Regions from separate parts of the Homo sapiens genome. Here region 2 is linked to region 1. The links are contacts of gene promoters, found by promoter capture Hi-C in blood cells and fetal thymus (Javierre and others, 2016). All regions are on one chromosome and are shown on one strand. The core of a region is centred on a gene start or on the middle of the fragment in contact, and the rest is flanking DNA. Distances in the headings are between cores, read along the strand shown. Region 1 holds the start of ADAMTS8 (ADAM metallopeptidase with thrombospondin type 1 motif 8). Region 2 has its middle 60 kb from the start of ST14.

The links. The method cuts DNA at HindIII sites, captures the fragments that hold promoters and counts their contacts. A CHiCAGO score of 5 or more calls a contact.
Region 2: a fragment that was not itself captured here is called in contact with the fragment with the promoter of ADAMTS8 in region 1 in 5 of 17 cell types (naive B cells, total CD8 T cells, total B cells and 2 more); the score reaches 7.9 in naive B cells.

What each region holds. Positions count from the first base shown.
Region 1 is chr11:130,426,419-130,432,787 of GRCh38, forward strand. ADAMTS8 (ADAM metallopeptidase with thrombospondin type 1 motif 8) reads right to left here and starts at 2,191. Exons shown (of 9, transcript NM_007037.6): 1 at 1,149-2,191. The coding sequence starts at 1,868. The HindIII fragment of the contact is 10,262 bases long and covers 444-6,369 here.
Region 2 is chr11:130,216,731-130,222,721 of GRCh38, forward strand. No RefSeq gene overlaps it. Among named protein-coding and RNA genes, the nearest start is that of ST14, 60 kb to the left of the region's middle. The HindIII fragment of the contact is 2,414 bases long and covers 2,482-4,895 here.

The sequences.
Region 1 (6,369 bases), core at 941-3,440:
CCAAGGATGCCATCACCACAAAGTGTCAGCTTAGCTGCTGCATTGCCAGGATCCCTGTTTCAGGGAACTATGACGTCTGGGCAGGTCAGTTCTTCCTTCCCTGGCACATCTCTGGTTCTGTGCTCCCTAGGGGCAAAGAGCACCCCTCTTCTGGAAGCCTTACCCTCTTTTCCTCCTGGAAAAGCCTTCACCTGGTCTTTAGGGGAGAAATTGGGGTTTAGGGCAACACAGACACCTCCTGCTGAGTCAGCACCATCTTTGCATCTAGTTAGAAATGGTCTGGTTAGGTAGCCATCCCCTGGACTCTGTTTTTCTCCCCTGTTTAGGTAAGAGCTGTGTCTGGGCTAAGGGCAGCTGGGTGGACCAAGTGTGGGTCTGGCTTTACTAGAGACATTCACCCAAAGAGCTCGTTCCAGCCCCTGCGCCCCTCGCGTTTCCACCAAAGCTTCAGCTCCTGGGCTGAGCCCCCAGGCAGAAGTTCTCTGCCCCTCCCTCTTGTGCTGGCTGCTGGCATTGCCAAGTTCTGCCGGGGCTGAGCGCCAGGTTGGCAAGGTAGTCCATGCCCCATTGATCACAACCAGCTGGCTGCACAGAAGTTGGGCAGCCCCTCTCCAGGTTCAGCTCCTTTCAAACAATGTCTTTTGCTTATGGCGACCTCCATACCCAAGGGAATCAGACAGCCATCTCTCTCCATCCCATCTGCCTTTCCCTGGGAGCCTCTCAGATCTGGAGGCAGTAGAGGGCTGAGGGGTGGGAGTGGGAGCTATTCGTAAACGCTCAATTTTCATCTCTGCTGGGAGAGGCAGGTGCCGGGGAATGCGTTGATACCCACTTTCGGGTCAGTGCGCCACGTGCCGCGGGAGATTCGGATGAGAGGGATGGGCGTCGGCAGCCCCACTCTAAACTGGAAGGGACCTGGGGGTGGGGGCGCAGGGATCCAGGGTGGCAGAAGTTCAGAAAAGAGTTACTGCTCTTTCTCAGACAGGAGAGAATCTCGTTTGGGGTAAGGCTGGAGAAGATGAGTGGGGAGGGCTTTTTTTTTTTTTTTTTTTTTTTCTCAGAGGGATTGGAAGGGGAGATTTTAGAGACGCTGGGAGGCGTCTGGGGGGCCTCCGGGCACGGCGGCTGGAGGAGGCTCTCAGTCCTACCTGCAGGTCGGCCCCGTAGAAGGCAGCCATGGACGCATCGGCCACCAGCAGCGTCTCCACGAAGCGCGCCTCAGACACAAACCGCTTGGTCCTACTCGTGGCCCCCAGGGGCGGTGGCGGCTCGCTAGCGCCTTCTGCCTCCTCTTCTTGGCTCTCCTCCTCGCTGTCCTCCTGGTGGTCTCCTCTCTCCTGCCTCTGACCCTCTCCCGTCTCCACCTCCCACTCGGGTCCTCGCGGGAGGGGGCGGGCTCCGGCGGGACCCCAGCGCTGCAGGCGGTGCGGCTGAGCCAGGGAGCCCCCCGCGCCCTGCGGCTGGATGGTGAACTCCTCGCCGTCCAGCAGGAAGGAGCCGCTCAGCCCGCGGCACAGGCTGACCGCCGCCAGCGACTCGGGCTCCCCATTCACGGTGCCGGAGAAGAAGCAGCCGCGCAGCCCCCGCTCGCCCCCGGTCGCCCGGCCGGAGCCCCCGAGGCGCTCGATCTTGAACTCGGGCGCTAGGAAGCTGTCGTCGGGCGCCAGGCGCAGCACGAAGCCCTTGCCGAAGGCGGACAGGTGGAGCGCGAGCTCGCCCGCGCTGCCGGGCAACCGCGTGGGCACCACCAGCTCCGAGGCCTGCCCCCCGGCTGCGGGCCGGGCCGGGGCGCCGCGGGCCAGCGGCAGCAGCAGCAGCAGCAGCAGCAGGAGCGGAGGCCACCGGGGGGCGGCGGGGGCGGGGAGCATGGGGGCTGCGGCGGTGGCTGCGCGCAGGAGAGGGAAGAAGCCCGCCAGGCGCGGGCAGGTGCTGGCGGCCCGAGCGCGGCCCGGCCGCTCTCTCCAGGAAAAGCGGAATCAATCGGGTGCAAGGCCGACTCGGCCCGCGGGGCCCGGCGGCGGGAGCGCTCCCCCGGCGGCCCCTCTGGCTGGCGCAGCCCGCTCCTCCCGCGCCGCCGCCCCCGAGCCGAGCGCGAGCAGCTGGCCCCGGCCCGCGTGCGCCCGTCCTCCGCCCCTGCCCGCGCCAGCCCCGCGCAGCCGCCTCCTGCCTCCTCCCCACCCCGGGAAGCACCGAGTGGGCTGCCGAGCCCTTCTTATTTATACTTCCTTCCCGGCTTGACATAAGAGGTTTATTTTTGATCTCTCACTATTCCCGTTTCCCCTCCCCTGGGATCAGAGAGAGAAACTGAAAAGAGGGAGAGAGAGTGGAGAAAAAAAAATTGGGATGAAATGCAAAACCAATCAGGCAGCGAGACCCGTCCGCCACCCGCCCCCCTGAAGTGTCAACTACAACTTCTTTCCTTTCCCTCTACGCGTGGACCCACGTTAACCCCTACCATGCTGGACTGACCCTTTAGAAAGAGTCCCTGGGAGACCCCAACCGCTTTCTCCTCTGCGGCCAAGAGTCCAGGATGCATCTTCCGAAGAGGCTCGTGCACTGGTCTCAGCGACCCTGTTCGGATCCCTGCAGAGTCCGACTGCAGAGCCCGACACTGTTGGGATCCCTGCAGATGCCTCCGGAGATCCGACTGTGTGGGGAGAAGGTTCCTGAGCTTTTCATTGTAAAGCATAAAGGGAGAGGAGGAAAAGGTCATGCTAAAATCATGCCCTCCTCTCATCACTACTGCACAGCCTTCCTAACTTTCACTCCAAACTGAAGATGGGGAAAACAAAAACAAAACAAAAAACAACCCACCTGGTTAACCCTAAGAGGGACTCTCACTGTCCTGTTAGAGGGCAGGTGGGGCAGAGGCCAGCACAGTGGTAAGTTACCAGCACTGAGGTTGGAAGTTAGCATTTCCCCAAGAGGGAAACAGACCTCCAGTCCCTGAAAAAGGTCTTCTCTTCTGGATACTGCTAGTTGCCCGGGACTTCAAGTAAGGTGGCAGGCCCTTTCACTGCGTTGCCACAGCCCCAGGAACAAATGTGTATGAGGTGAATTTATTCTGTCCCATGTCACCACTGCCCCCTAGGGAAGGGGGTAGTATTCAGGAAGAGAGGGATGACATGGTCTCAAGACCACAAAACTGCATCCCATCCCAGTCTCAATGACACAGGTCTGGATTGGGTGGAGGGCCCTGTTCTCTACCTACAAACTCTAGACTCATCCACCAACTGTGCCTTTCTCTGAGTTGTCAATGTGGGTGATGCATTAGGAACCGCTGGGATCAGGGCCTTTAAATCCTTTGCCAATTCACCTGCCCCCAGGTACCCAGCTCTGTGCTTATGCTGGGGATGTTGACAGTCGAGGTCATCGCTGATTCTTTTCAGCCCATCTGACCCCTTCCTGCAGTGTGGTGGTTCAGCATGCATCTGAGACTCTCAGGGCTTGTTACCTCCAAAGAGGAGGCTCTTGCCCAGGGGAAAGTGCTGCCAAATTCCCTCTAAGTATCCCCCCTCTCTTTGCTTTCTCAGAAACACAGAGGGACAGCTGTGAATTAGATGAAAGGATGAACTTCCCAACCTAGCATGGTGCAGAACCTCCTTTCCTGCATAATTTATAGGATAGGAATAACGAGTCTAGAATGTTTTGGGGAAACACTTCTAGAGGAAGGACAATGGAAAGAATGGTCTCTTCAACCCTTTTCTCAAAACAAGCAAAACACTTCGTCCTAGCACAGTGTACAGTGCTTGGGACATCCTGTACAGTGCTTGGGACAGTCTGACCTGGGCAAGCAATGAATACAACTCTGTGTTGCCTCAGGGCTATTGTAACAGTTCAATGACTGGTTTTTACCTCCTTGAAGCCCCTTATTTGCTGTTTCCCAGAGTACAACTCCTGATTTTCTCTTTTTGAGACACAGTCTCACTTTGTCACCCAGGCTGGAGTGCAATGGTGCGATCTTGGCTTACAGCAACTTCTCCCTCTCAGGTTCAAGAGATTCTCCTGCCTCAGCCTCCCAAGTAGCTGAGACTGCAGGCAGGCACCACCACACCTGGCTAACTTTTGTACTTTCAGTAGAGATGGGGTTTCACCATTTTGGCCAGGCTGGTCTCCAACTCCTGACCTCAGGTGATCCGCCTGCCTCAACCTCCCAAAGTGCTGGGATTATAGGTGTGAGCTACTGTGCCAGCTAACTCCTGATTTTCAGTAGCAGTTAGGTCCTGTGGGTTTTCCTTCTTTCTCGAGTGTAAGCATCTGGGAGGAGTGGGAGTGAGGAGCGTGCCCAGTTTCCCTTTCTCCCGCCCGAATGCTAAGGGCTAGAAGTGGGAGATTTAACTGAACCAAGGAAAGTCTTGAGTGTCCATGGAGCCTTTGGTTGTGAAGGCTCTGGAAGTTGCTGCTTCATTTTTATTTTAGTTTTTAATTTTTTGAGATGGCGTTTCGCTCTTGTTACCCAGGCTGGAGTGCAATGGCGAGATCTCAGCTCACTGAAACCGCCTCCAGGGTTCAAGTGATTCTCTTGCCTCAGCCTCCCAAGCAGCTGGGATTACAGGCTCCTGCCACCATGCCCGGCTGATGTTTTTTTTTTTTTTTAGTAGAGACAGGGTTTCACCATGTTGGTCAGGCTGGTCTTGAACTCCTGACGTCAGGTGATTCTCCCACCTTGGCCTCCCAAAGTACTGGGATTACAGGCGTGAGCCACCGAGCCTGGCCACTGCTGCTTCATTTTTTTAATAGGATGAAGTGCCCCCATAGGTAGCATTTTGGAAGTTCTCTTTGGAGAGAGAAGTCAGATAGTGAGTTCTGGACTTTATCCTTCCTCATTTCAACAACAACATCACCACCACCCCCACCACCCCCACCACCCACCACCGCCGCCGCCGCCACCACCACCACCACCACCTGCTGACTGGTTCATTGACTGGCCCCGCAGTCCCCGCTCCCTCCTGGATTTCCCCTTCCCCAGATGTGCAGTGCTGCTAACTTCCAAGGTAGCTCCTGCCGTTCGCAATGCAACCACAAGGTGTCAGGCTTACCTTGGCTATGTTAAACCCAGGACCTGGCTATGTTAAACCCAGGACCTGGCTATGTTAAACCCAGGACCTGGCTATGTTAAACCCAGGACCTGGCTATGTTAAACCCAGGACCTGGCTATGTTAAACCCAGGACCCTTGCCACAGGGAGCGAGAAAGGGTGGGTGGTTTGTAGTGGCCGCTCTTAGAGGAGTGGCAGGTGAAAACAGTGCAGCAAAACAAACATCAACAAACCAACCCGTGAAAATCCCATAACGGCATTCTGCCAATTCCGGATTTCTTACATTACTACTTTATTTCCCAAAATATGTAATTACGGCAGGGTTGCCAAACTACGGCCCTTGGGCTAATTGCTGCACACTGCTTGTTTTTTTGCACTCTACAAGCTAAGAATAGTTTTTATATTTTTAAGTGGTAAATTAAAAAAATTAGAAAGAATATTAAAATTTCTTGACACTTGAAAATGGTATGAAATTCAAATTTGTGTCCATAAATAAAGTTTATTGGAATGCAGCCACAGCCATTCATGTACGCATTCTTTGCTCTTGAGCTGCGAGGGAAGGGTTGAGTAAGCCTAAAATATTTACTATCTGGCTCTTTGCAGAAAAGTTTGCTGACTCCTGAATGTAAAAGAGCATCAATTTGGATTCCTCAAATTTGGAATCTGGGATTACTTAAGCTCGCTATATGCCATTCTTATGGAATAAGAAGCTCAAAATAATTGCTTGCTCTGAATGTGAAAAGGAAATTATATAAAAAATGAAAATATCTTTGTTTTGTCTTTAATTCTGTATCTAATAGTTGCTTATTATTTAATCCATCCTTAATAATTAAAAGATTTTTATGTTTATGGTGTCTTATACTGTAGGCCTATAGTGATTTTTAAGTTTTTGATCAACTTACATTATTAGTGACTGCTTATTTCTTAGTTTATAACTAGAGTTTTATATGGTATATATGATACATTTTTAGTGTATATAAGTTCTGGTATTCTTTAGAATTCCAGACTCCTTAAAACGGGAAGAAACAATGGTGATCATCTAATCCACTGCCACTCACATTTTGCAGAGAAGAAACAGAAATTCAGAGGTTTCAGTGACTTACCCAAAATGACATAACTAGTGATGAATTTTTTTCCCCAAAATACTATCGTATCCTCTACATGAAGATAAAAAAATTGTTTTGCTTTAGAACTTCATTTACAATTCGTACATTTTCAGTAAAGTTTAGTGTTTACTATGGGCCTGGGCATTGTTCTGAGCACTTTTTTTTTTTTTTGAGACAGAGTCTTGCTCTGTCGCCAGGCTGGAGTGCAATGGAGCCATCTCGGTTC
Region 2 (5,991 bases), core at 2,439-4,938, 210 kb before region 1:
CCAGATGAGGCAGACACTTGGGAAACAAGGTCCTGGGCACGTCTGGGCGGGCAGACAGGTCACATTCCTGGCAGGGTCAGGTCACGGGGTCTGGCCGACCAGCCTGAGCCGAGCACAGGAAAGGTGCCTCTCTGGGGCCTTCTGGGGTGTGTGCGGGGACCTTTATGACCCTCCAAGGCTCAGTGGAGTTGCTGTTTCCCAGGAAAGCAGCTGCCTGAGGGACATCCTTTCAGAACTGGAACCTCACGGTTGGAAAGAACCTGAAATTCAAGGTGACCTACGCCAGATGCCCACGAGGCATTTTAATCCGTCCTAATGTGGGAGCACGGACAGGCCCGTCCAGCCTGGGACCCCACTGTGCTTCCACCCCGTCTTTGTGCCCCTGACCTTGCCAAGTGGGATGCCAAGCGGCCTCTTCCTGTCCCCTGCGCTGGATGTGAGAGCTGGAGAGGCCCTGGAAGAGTGACTGCTCCAATCTGTATGTCAAAGAAGTGTCAGGGACTCTGGCGGCGTGGATGCATCCTCTCACTTCACCTCTCACTTCAGCGTCATCACAGTCCTCGGGAGTGGGTTCTGTCATTCCCAGTTATAGGAGAGGACGCTGTGGCCGTGCAGATAGAGAGCCTGCTGCTCACGGTTCCTCAGTAGGGGAAGAGAAGGGTGCACCTGGGCCACTGGGTCCACCCGCACAGCCTCCTGCAGCCAATGCATGCTCCACCTGGGGCTTTAGGTGCTGGAGCCAGGACCTCTCTCGCCAGGTCATAAACTCACTGGCTTAGGCACACGTGGAAAAGGCCAAAACAGACTTTCGCTGGCAGGACTCCAACCCGGCTCCATTAGCATTTCAAAATCTTCCCCATGTCCTTTCTTTCCTTGGCCACCCCCAGCAGCCCCTGGGCATTTCCCTCTCTAAGGGGCCAAACCATCTGCTTCGTCTTACTCCTCTGCCTGGGGCAGTGTGGACTGGAGGGAGAATATGTTTCCTTGAGGTCTTGGCCGTGGGCACTAGAACAACATGTTCTGTCCTCTGATTCAGGAGGATCAGCCTGTGACCCTCGTCTTCCTCCCTGAGCAGTTCAGTTCTGCTGAAGGCTGCTTGGCCTTGCGGGAAGCTTAAGCAAAGGGAACAGAGGCCAGGGGTGATGGGGCGGGCCTCGGACTGGAGCCTAGAGGGGAAGGGCTGGAGAGAGATTCTGCAGGGCCGGCCCCTGTGCCCAGATTTTCCAGTCCCAAAGAAGACCCACAAACTGGACCTGTGTGGGGGGCACAGAAATATTCCTGCATCATCAGTAACAAGGATTTTCACTGGGACCTGGGGACATGTAGCAAGACCCAAGCTGAAAATATAATTCCATTTTGTTCTAATTCAAAGGCTTCTGAAAAACGAATGAGTGGTTCACAGCTTGAACTATTTTGTTGGGTATTTATTTTAAACAAAAGACATTTAATTTTTTTTTTTTCTTTTCTGAGATGGAGTCTTGCTCTGTTGCCCAGGCTGGAGTGCAATGGCGTGATCTTGACTCAATGCAACCTCTGCCTCCCCAGTTCAAGTGATTCTCTCACCTCAGCCTCTCGAGTAGCTGGGATCACAGGTGCCTGCTACCATGCCTGGCTAATTTTTGTATTTTTATGAGAGATAGGGTTTCGCCATGTTGGCCAGGCTGGTCTCAAACTCCTGACCTCAGGTGATCCACCCGCCTTGGCCTCCCAAAGTGCTGAGATTACAGGCGTGAGCCACCACGCCCAGCCTGGTTTAGTTTTTAAAATAATGTTTTGTAAGTTTGGGTTCAGTAAAGATGATTTGGGCCTGGTTCAGTGTCCGCCCTGGGACTCACTGCAGTGAGGGCAGCAGGGAACGCACAGTGTGTTTCAGCGGGGCCAGCTGGGCAGCAGGGCAGGATGGATGTGTGGTTCAGAAGGCAGCTTTGGGCAGCCCACCTCTCTCCACAAGCCCCTGCCCACACGGTTTATGGTGCGTCTTGGTGAAGCATAGACGTCGAACACCTGTGTTTCCATGAGTAGAAACATCAGGCCTGGAGGCCTCAGATTTGGACACCGCTGTGAAGGTGGCGTTCCAGGGGCTGGCCGGGCTACCTTCCTGTGCCCTGACCCTCACCCCGGGTGTTTTGGGCATACAGTGGGGAACTCACTGTGTCTTGGAGAGGCTGGCAGACACCTAAAGTCCCACAAGCGTTTCCTGAACACTTGACCAAAACGGTCCATCTCTGCACACATGGAGCAGGCCTCACTTCTGTGACCTTGGAGAGTGGTAAGGGCTGGAGCCACACAGGAGTCCCTGGCACATTCCCGGGTTGGAGCAGGTTTATGGGAGGCCAAGGGAATTTGGGAACATGGTCACTACTATGGGGAACCAAGTCCTCTCTTTGCTGTCTTCTCAGGGGTATAGAGATGCTCCTCAGATCACCTCTGCCAGAGCTTGGATTTCTTATTTAATGTACCTGGAAGCCTTCACATCTATAAAGCTTTTCTTCTCCAAGGTTAAATAATGCTGCTAACCTGCTATGTTCATATTAAGGCCTAGGGAAGTGGATGAAGACTTGGGGTGGGGCTTGCTAAGGTCCTGCAGAGCTGGCACGCACCACTTTCGGTACGGGGGCACCAAGGAGCACCCCGAGCCGTGAAGGGCTGGACTTCTCTGTGAACAGTTCATAATTGGCGTTCCTTCATTTCCGAAAATGCCCAAGGGAGGGAGGAAGTATATTGAGGCTCATATCGTACTTGGGGTGTTTAACTGTAACCTGATTACCAGACTTGCATTCCTGTGGACCCATTTCCAGTAGCTTCACTTTTTTTTTTTTTTTTTTTTTTTTTTTGAGACAGAGTCTCTCTCTGTCACCCAGGCTGGAGTGCAGTGGCGCGATCTTGGCTCACTACAAGCTCCGCCTCCCGGGTTCACGCCATTCTCCTGCCTCAGCCTCCCGAGTAGCTGGGACTACAGGCGCCCGCCACCACGCCCGGCTGATTTTTTGTACTTTTAGTAGAGACGGGGTTTCACCGTGTTAGCCAGGATGGTCTCGATCTCCTGACCTCGTGATCCACCCGCCTTGGCCTCCCAAAGTGCTGGGATTACAGGCGTGAGCCACTGCACCCGGCCAGTAGCTTCACCCTTCTGTCTCCCCATGTGTTCATCTAGAGGGTACTCACTGGCGTCTGTTTGCCAGGCCTTGTTCTAGGAACCAGGAGTACCGCTGGGATCCTCCGAATAACGCCTGGAGGGCAGCGAGGTGCAGGGAGGGGAAGGGACGCGCATGGCAAGCTCCTGCCTCGCATCCCCACGCACCGAGAGCCCTCCTGCCTGCACGTCTACCACAGGCGGAAGGAGGGAACCTTCCAGAGGCAGAGGGTACGGGCTGAGTGGTTTGTAAACATTTCATCAGCACTCAGCCACTGAAGGATGAGTTTTTGGCTCTGGAAAGGTAAGCGTGTTTCTTACCACATGTTCCTGTCACTCTGGATCCACATGACCTGGAACCTGCCATGGCCACCCAGATGCTTTTCATCCTTCTTAAGATGCGTGAGCCTCCTCTGTTTTGGACACTGGCTATTCTTGTAACGGCACCGTGGACAACTTCTGGGAAGCATGCACCGAACCTTAGTGTCTCTGAGCACAGGTTACAGAGCTGCTCACTCCCCGCACCTACAGGTGGCCTCTTGGGATGCCGTGTGGGGAGAACCAGGGACGAGGCCCACACTCCGAGGTTCTGGAGCTTGGGCGCTGCATGCTGTGTGGGTGGCAGCTGGTTCCCCTGGAGACTGAGGGCTGCTGGGCAGAGCCGAGCTGCTTGGTGGTTTCCCTGCTCTTGGCTCTGCTCATCCCTCTGCCCCACTCCCTACCTACGCTTTCCTCTGGAAGAGGAACTGGAAAGTGCGCTGATGCACACGAGAGGTGGGGCAAACCGATGACTGTGCCTGGAACGGTCCAGGTGGAGAGACAATCAGCAAATTGGGGCAATTCCTTCCACACCTGATGCCTGTTAACAGAGGCCAGTCAGGGGCTGGCTGCCACGGCAGGCTCCACGGGGAGCACGGCGATTTGTGTGTGTGGAAGGGCTCTTGTTGTCATGTACCTCATGGGTGGAGGCACAGGGCCCTACTGTCCAATCCCACCAGGGTCTGGGAGAAGGCATGTGGGTGGGCATGACTGGTGGTTACAGAGCATTCCGATGACATGGGGAGGACTAGGGGTCCAAAGGTTCTCTCTTACTCAACTGGGGAGGCCTCTCCTTCAGTTTTCCCTACTCTCCATTGAGATAAGTTGTACACGTCTGTGTGTCTGTGTAGATACATGTGCATGTATTGGCGTACTTACAAAGCACAACGTAAAGTTAGAACTAACTCTTCCTCCAAAGCTAGTCTGTGCCAGTGTTTCTCTTGAGACCACAAGGAAATCCCTGCCGTGTGTGACAGCCTGTATCTATGTAGGGGACTGGAATGCTCATAGGCAAGTGGCGGGGGCGGGGTTCGTACTGGCACATATCGGGTACTATCGGATGAATCAATGCAAATGCACAATGCCCCTGTTTAAATCTCATCCCCTTCCCAGGCCTTCTCCAGGGCAGTTAAACGTTCTTATGAAAGCCATTTCATATCTACTGAATGAACACATGGCACATGCCCGTGAAGCACATCTGCACGCATAGGCATTCTGCGTCCTACACGCAGGAGTAGCTGTGTAGTCAGCCAGACTCTCTGTGGGAAAGACGTGTCTCGGGATCTGACAGGTACAGGTCTTTTAAATGGCATTTTAAATTCCCACAGATGCCAACAATTTGGATATGGAGAATGAGCTCTTTTAAAAATTAAAATCTATAAGTGCCGCAAGCACCTGCCTCTAGCTCACAGCCACAGGGTCCTTGGCTTGTGTTGGGGAAACAAGCTTCGACTTTGTCCAGGAAAAGCCATCTTTTTTTGAGCCAGAGTTTTGCTCTTGTTGCCCAGGCTGGAGTGCAGTGGCGCAATCTCGGATCACTGGAACCTCCGCCTCCTGGGTTCATGCGATTCTCCTGCCTCAGCCTCCCCAGTAGGTGGGATTACAGGCGCCCGCCACCACGCCCGGCTATTTTTTTGTACTTTTAGTAAAGTTGGGGTTTTACCACGTTGGCCAGGCTGGTCTCAAAGTCCTGACCTCAGGTGATCCACCCACCTCAGCCTCCCAAAGTGCTGGGATTAGCGACGCGGGGAATCTCTCCTTTAGCCTAATTCTGAAGCCCAACTCTTGAACTTGGCCTAATTCTTGCTCCATTTTCTCTCAGACAGTTCCCTCTCAAAGAAACCAACAACAGAAAAGGGAGGTTGCCTAAGCGTTTAAGGCCACACACTTGGTGTTGCTACAGCTTAGAATGCAGCAGCTATTCTCTACGGTGCACAGAGGACACCTGGACTGAAGATCAGGTCCGCCTCTCCCCACTCTCCCCACCTACCACGTCTCCGTCAGCCCCGATGTCACGAACACACATCCCTTCCTCTCCAGCCCTACTCCCATCCCCTTCTTCTGGGTTCTTACCCGAAGTTCTGTTGTAACTCAGGGGTCTCAGTTAAGTCCGTATGCATCCCTTTAATCTGCTTTTAATATTTCTAGAGAGGGCTCTGATGTTTCTGTGCTCGAAAATGTGAGACGATTCTCGATTTCCTACCAAATATAGCTGCAGTTCTTCAGGCCTTCTCTGACCTGGTGCTAGTCTAGTTTACAAGGTTTTCTTCCACTCTTTCCCTTCAGGGATCCTGCAAGGCTCAGCAAGCTACACTCCTTCTGTTCCCTCAACCTCTGAGGCTGCGTATTGCTTCCCGGAGTCATCTCCTTCTCCGTCACTTGTCTGTACAAATCCTACATCTCTTCCCAAGGAAGACCCAGCTCAAGTGGTGCCTCTGCCATGCTACCTTCCCTCACCCCTCCAGCCAGGTCTCCCACTTCTTCAAATTTCCAAAGTATACTTTTTGGTGTTTCTCTCAGGGCAATCAGTTATTTCTATC